2 separate regions of the Homo sapiens genome follow, and region 2 is linked to region 1. Evidence: promoter capture Hi-C in 16 types of primary human blood cells and fetal thymus (Javierre and others, 2016). All regions are on one chromosome and are shown on one strand. The core of a region is centred on a gene start or on the middle of the fragment in contact, and the rest is flanking DNA. Distances in the headings are between cores, read along the strand shown. Region 1 holds the start of ERH (ERH mRNA splicing and mitosis factor). Region 2 overlaps EIF2S1 (eukaryotic translation initiation factor 2 subunit alpha).

What was found. The method cuts DNA at HindIII sites, captures the fragments that hold promoters and counts their contacts. A CHiCAGO score of 5 or more calls a contact.
Region 2: a fragment that was not itself captured here is called in contact with the fragment with the promoter of ERH in region 1 in 1 of 17 cell types (neutrophils); the score reaches 6.6 in neutrophils.

The regions. Positions count from the first base shown.
Region 1 is chr14:69,396,880-69,399,579 of GRCh38, reverse strand. ERH (ERH mRNA splicing and mitosis factor) reads left to right here and starts at 1,281. Exons shown (of 4, transcript NM_004450.3): 1 at 1,281-1,349. The coding sequence starts at 1,347. SLC39A9 (solute carrier family 39 member 9) reads right to left here and starts at 888. Exons shown (of 7, transcript NM_018375.5): 1 at 115-888. The coding sequence starts at 210. RefSeq lists enhancers at 596-935, 1-1,063, 1,265-1,772, 1,773-2,281 and a silencer at 1,032-1,272. The HindIII fragment of the contact is 2,829 bases long and covers 1,113-2,700 here.
Region 2 is chr14:67,383,137-67,386,020 of GRCh38, reverse strand. It overlaps EIF2S1 (eukaryotic translation initiation factor 2 subunit alpha), which reads right to left. Exons shown (of 8, transcript NM_004094.5): 8 at 1-2,706. The coding sequence ends at 2,581. It also overlaps a transcript of GPHN not described here. Among named protein-coding and RNA genes, the nearest start is that of EIF2S1, 24 kb to the right of the region's middle. The HindIII fragment of the contact is 7,072 bases long and covers 1-2,884 here.

The DNA.
Region 1 (2,700 bases), core at 32-2,531:
TCTTAATGAGACCTTCAGCTTTGAGATTTAACTAGGGAAGCAGCTTCCCTTTGCAACTAAAACTACTATCTCACAGCCATCCTGACAGCTGACAGAAAATTGAGAATTTCTTACCTCTGAGAAATTAACAGCCAAGGGAATGATTCCGGCCACGTAACATCCCACCAACATAGCCAGAGACAGCAGGCTAATGGAGATGAAATCATCCATTCTGCCCTCCTTTATTCACCCACAACCACTAGACAACAAATTTCCAGTGGCTTTAAATGGTGCTTAGGTTCTTTAAACAGGTGTGGTGGTTCCAAGAGAGTGGGCTTTCCAGTTCTTTAGGCCTTCCCACCAGCAGATGTGTTCACGAGGCACCTTCCTCTTGAACGTACCCGGCAACAGACCCTTTTTGCTGATATTAGCACCAGAGAAAGCTTACAGCAATCTAAGGTCCCAGGCTCTGGGTTCTCAGATGCCAGTCATTAGATTCTCGTGGGTTAACAGAGATGGGAAAAGTCAATGGGGAAAATGTGCGAATGATCGATTTCTTCGATTGTCGGATTGAGGGTGGCACAATGTCTTAGGCGGCGGCGGGTAAGTGACTCAAGCGAACCTGTTCGTTCCCTAGGCGCCCCTGTCTCCAAGAGGCGGCCCCGAAGGTGATCCGCCCCCCAGAGCAGGAAACCAGCCCACCAGTCCCAGCAAACTCTCCTCCGAGCCTGGGATGAGGAAAGGAGTCCTGCAGGTCTCTAACGATGGGTCCTAGGGGTTCAGCAGCAAAGTTGACACAAAGCTGTCTCTGCCCTATACCCGGTGCTGCCCATGGTACTGCACTCGACCGGGCCTTGACCCGGAGTCGCCGATACTACAGCTGCCATGGCCGCCAAGTGGCATCTCTTCATTCCATCCACTTCCGGATTGTCTAACCACCCCCTCCTTTACAAAGGCACTTCCGGGTTACAACCGACCTCCGGCCCAGGATACTTACGTTGCCGCCATTTTTGAGTAGGGCTAATGAAAGATGTCTGATGTCACTGTCTATACCGGTGATCACTTGAGCCGTATGTTTAATAACGAAAGTACGGAAGACAGCGTCTTGAAAAAAAATAATTCTTCCTAAAGCTTGGAAACTTTCCCTTACCTTTTTGCCTTTATCGAAGATGGCTGAAACAGAGTCAGTAGCTGCTCTAGCTGCCGGAAGTGACTGTGCCTCTATGATCCAAAAGGCTCTTTTGCGTTGCACTTTCGACGACTTCCGGCGGCTCCTCTCGCGAGGATTGGCTGTTAGCGGCGTTGTAGTTAAGCTCGTGTAACGGCGGCGGTGTCGGCAGCTGCTGTAGCGAAGAGAGTTTGGCGCGATGGTGAGAAAGGCCTCCGCGGCTACCCGAGTCCGAGTCCCCGGCCTCCAGAGCGACCCCAGCCCCATACGTTTTCCCCTCCCCACGAGCCCCATGCAGCGCCGCGTGATGCTCCCCGCCACTCTAGTCGGTGGATTGACCCTTCTTCCCGCCGCAGGGACGCCAGGCCTGACTCTAGGCCTCGGAGCCCCGGTCCGCCCTGCGGTTGCGCGCCCGCCTGCTCGCTCGGGTCCGGCGTGCCTTGGGCCTGAGGATGAACTCTCTCCCGATTGTTACTCGGTAGAGGGAGACGTGGGGGAGGTGTTTTGTTTTTTGAGATAGAGAGTCTCACTCTATCGCCCAGGCTGGAGTGCAGTGGCGGGATCTCAGACCCCTGCAACCTCTGCCTCCTGGGTTGAAGCAATTCTCCTGTCTCAGCCTCCCTAGTAGCTGGGATTACAGGCGCCCGCCACCTCGCTCGGCTAATTTTTTTATTTTAGCAGAGACGGCGTTTCACCATGTTGGCCAGGCTGGTCTCGAACTCCTGACCTCAAGCAATCCACCCGCCTCGGCATCCCAAAGTGCTGGGATTACAGGCGTGAGCCACCGGGCCCTGCCGGATATGGTATTTTTCCCTCCAAATGCTCTAGCCTGCTGTAGGAACAATGGGCCAGGGTTGTCTAACTATTCTCGAAGCTGACAGATCCAGCTATACCCAGCATGTGGGCCAGGAGAGGACGTATTTGCTTTGCAGTGTTTTTTCAGCTTTCGTTTTCCTGTGCTCTGCCTTTTTTTTTTTTTTCCTGTTTTTGAGACCTCTAGGTATTGCGTGTGGCGCGTCCCTCAGCCCTCGATCCTGTACTTATCTGTATTTATATCCTCTTGGGGCTGGAGGCTGAAAAGTAGGCTCAGCTCAGAGACCAGCTCTATTAGAACCCAACCGGGATGATCAGTAAGCTCCAATTCGAAGAAAGTGACCAAAACTGGCTTGAGAGGTGGTATAATCTGTAAAGAATTTGAGCAGGAAAGCATTGCCATTTAAAAATGATAACCACTTGACCACAGTTTTTAAAATGTATCATGTTATGTTCTTAGTGATTTTTAATCCTTGTCTTTGGGCAGTAAGTACTGAAAATAGTAAACTTTGCCCGGTGTTCATTTTAAGACTAGATATAAAAAGCAACATGCTGTATAGCTTTTTCCATTCTTACCCTTTCAAATTAGTCCTTTAATTTGCATTAGAATTGGAATACAATTATTATAGTAGCAGTTGAGATAGCTAGTGTATAGGGCAACCTCTGTTGCAAGAATGCACGTGGTTTCTACAAAATTATTTTTTCTTAAATGACTCGTTGAAACTTTTTGAGTAGCTAGC
Region 2 (2,884 bases), core at 335-2,834, 2.0 Mb after region 1:
ACCTTGGGGTTGGGGCAAATCAGTGAACAAGTCTCGGCAAGGTACTGGCATTTGTATTTTTAAAAAAATCTCTAGCCATTTTGTTCTTGGTGTAAAAGTAGAATGGCTGAAGTATGGCAGCTGAGTAATAACTGTTCTTCTTAGCATGATGTAGTGCTTAGCATGTCTCTATGGGTCCAACTTTGAACATTATTAAGAACTGGTTTGTCTTGTTTTGCTATAACTGATATGAAAAATGGTTTGGGTGGGGCATGGTGGCTCACACTCTTACAGAGGCAGAGGCAGGAGGATAGCTTGAGCCCAGGATTTCGAGACCTGCCCAGGCAATATAACACCATTTGCCAAAAAAAAAAAAAAAAAAAGAAAAAAGTGGTTTGAATATTCATATTTCTTCCTGGCCATTACTGATTTTCAATTAATTTATGCATAAATGAGACCCAAACTATCACTAATTTTCAGCTATATGAATTGATAGCCACTTGACATCAGTGAAAGGTACAGTAGGGAGTAGATGAAATTGTATTTTTAATGAAAAGGCTTTGATGGGAGATTCAAGATTTTTGGTTTTTTTTTTTTTTTTTGAGACAGGGTCTTGCCCTGTCACCCAGGCTCGAGTGCACTGGAGTGATCACAGCTCACTGGCCTCAAGTGATCCTCCTGCCTTGGCCCCTTAAGTGCCAGGGTTACAGGCATGAGCTACCATGCCTGGCAGAAATTCAAGATTTGGATAAACTTACTTCTTTGCCAAGCCTGTTCTTCAAGTTATTCAGAACTGGGTGTATACCTTGTCCTCATATGTATCTTGTCCCTGCTGTCTTTTAGGTTAGCAAGGTGTATGAATACTTTTAAGTTTTGTTTGTTCTTTTCCTCGTGGTATCAGTGAAATACTGATCTATTCTCTGGCTAGGGTCAATTTACAAAATTGCCATGGAACTGAGCAAAAGGCCCACGTGGGATAAAAATCACTCACCATCGACGCCACCAGTATTTTTCAAGTTATGGCTTTTGAAGTATAACAAATTTCAGTAAACAAAATCAAAAGAAAAAATTCCTCTGCGTACAACAAAGAAGCACCTGTTATATTTTGAATGCATTCTTCATGTTGCCAGCTTTCTAAACTTGTTTTTTTGATGCCTCAACAGACAGAAGTGAAAATTATATGCCACTCTTAAGTACATCCAGGTTCTCCTCTACATATTCCCAATATGGAATGCTGGCTAGCAATCATGGCACTCTCTCAGAAACCAGCCACTGGAAGTTAAAACTTCTGGATTTCAAAAGCTAGTACAGGCTGCTAAATTTAACAAAGGAACAAACCTTCATAAATGGTACAAACTACCTGCCCAACACACTCTTCTATTTTCCAGACCCTTTAATATTGAGTAGTCTAGTCTTGGATTGACTATGGTGGGTTAGGTCTAATCTAAGTATCTTAATAGCTATCTAGGGATAATGAATAAAATTAAATACAACTGGTACCTCAAGTATCATAAGAGAATAAATTTATGAAGACAAGCAGACCAAAGCAACTCAAGATTTTCTACACCTGACTACTGTAGCTGTAACTTCAAATAATGTGTTACCTATGAAACTTATTATGTACGAATTAGTTCTTAAAGACAGAAATGATGGAAACATGTAAAAAAAAAAAAACAACAGTAAGTGTTCAAACAGATCCCTGTTTTGTTATAAAGAACTGGAGCTCTAGGTGGCATCTAGTGGATATTTTAATAGCAATAAAAATAAAAAATTGGGTGATATTCCAACTAAATAAAAAATGCAGCTGCTTTTTAAAATTTAAAAACATACTTTACCACCCTGAATTATAAACTCAAGGCAAGTAGCTTATTATTCCAATAAGGACGTGGTGTGATAAATTCTCTCACACAGGTTGTCATCAATCTCAAATAGATAAAAGGCACAGAACCGATCTAATTCTTTCAATGCATTTTAAGGCTTTGTCCCGCTAAGGGTCAACTTTCACTGTGGTTAAAGTTAAATTTATTTTCTCTAAAACTCTTCTTTTGAAAGGATCTGTTATAGAGATCCTTTATTCACCTGCTCCTACAGTTCCACATCAAGACTAAAATAAAGATAAAAGAATTAGGGTCTTAGTATTAAAATGCTTTTAACTGGTGACAAGAAGGAAGAAGCCTATAGTTAAATATCCCAGAAATTTATTTGATGTTTGCTTGAATACATTTTATATAGAAAGATTGGGATTGTTTGCCTTGGATGCCCCTGGCAAATCTCGTGAGGCATTGAACTAGAAAGGGGTGCCAATCTGGAGACATCAGAAATGGAAATCACAAGCCCAATTTTAGAACTATTCTTAAAGATTTGTCTCTAGTGAAATGAGGCCACTCCCTTAAAAATGCTCAAAGTGTTGGAGCTACTGTGTGACAACAGCTGACATTTAGGAGGGCATTTCATGTTCTGATCTGTTAGAACATTTAAATACTTAGAAATAAAAAATATTCAGCTTTGAAGTTTTCAATACTGGAAAACTTTCAAGTCTAGGATTTACAGCCAGGAAGCGCTGCTCTGTGTTCCTTAAATTGGACTCTGTTTCCCACAAAGTTAATCTTCAGCTTTGGCTTCCATTTCTTCTGCATCATCATCTCCATCCACTTCGGCATTTTCTCTTTCAAGCCTCTCCATCTGCCTCGCAAGTTCAGTCTCATCTGTATCTGTGACCACTTTGGGCTGTGGAAGCAGAGGTATAATTTCAAACTGAAGTAGTAAATACTATACAAATTTAATTTCAATACTATTACTGCCTAATGTTTTCTCTCTTTAACACTTTTCTAACAACTCTGTCATATCTGTTCACTTTTGAGTGACTTATCAGCAATAAATTCCATTACATAAATAAGAGGTGAAA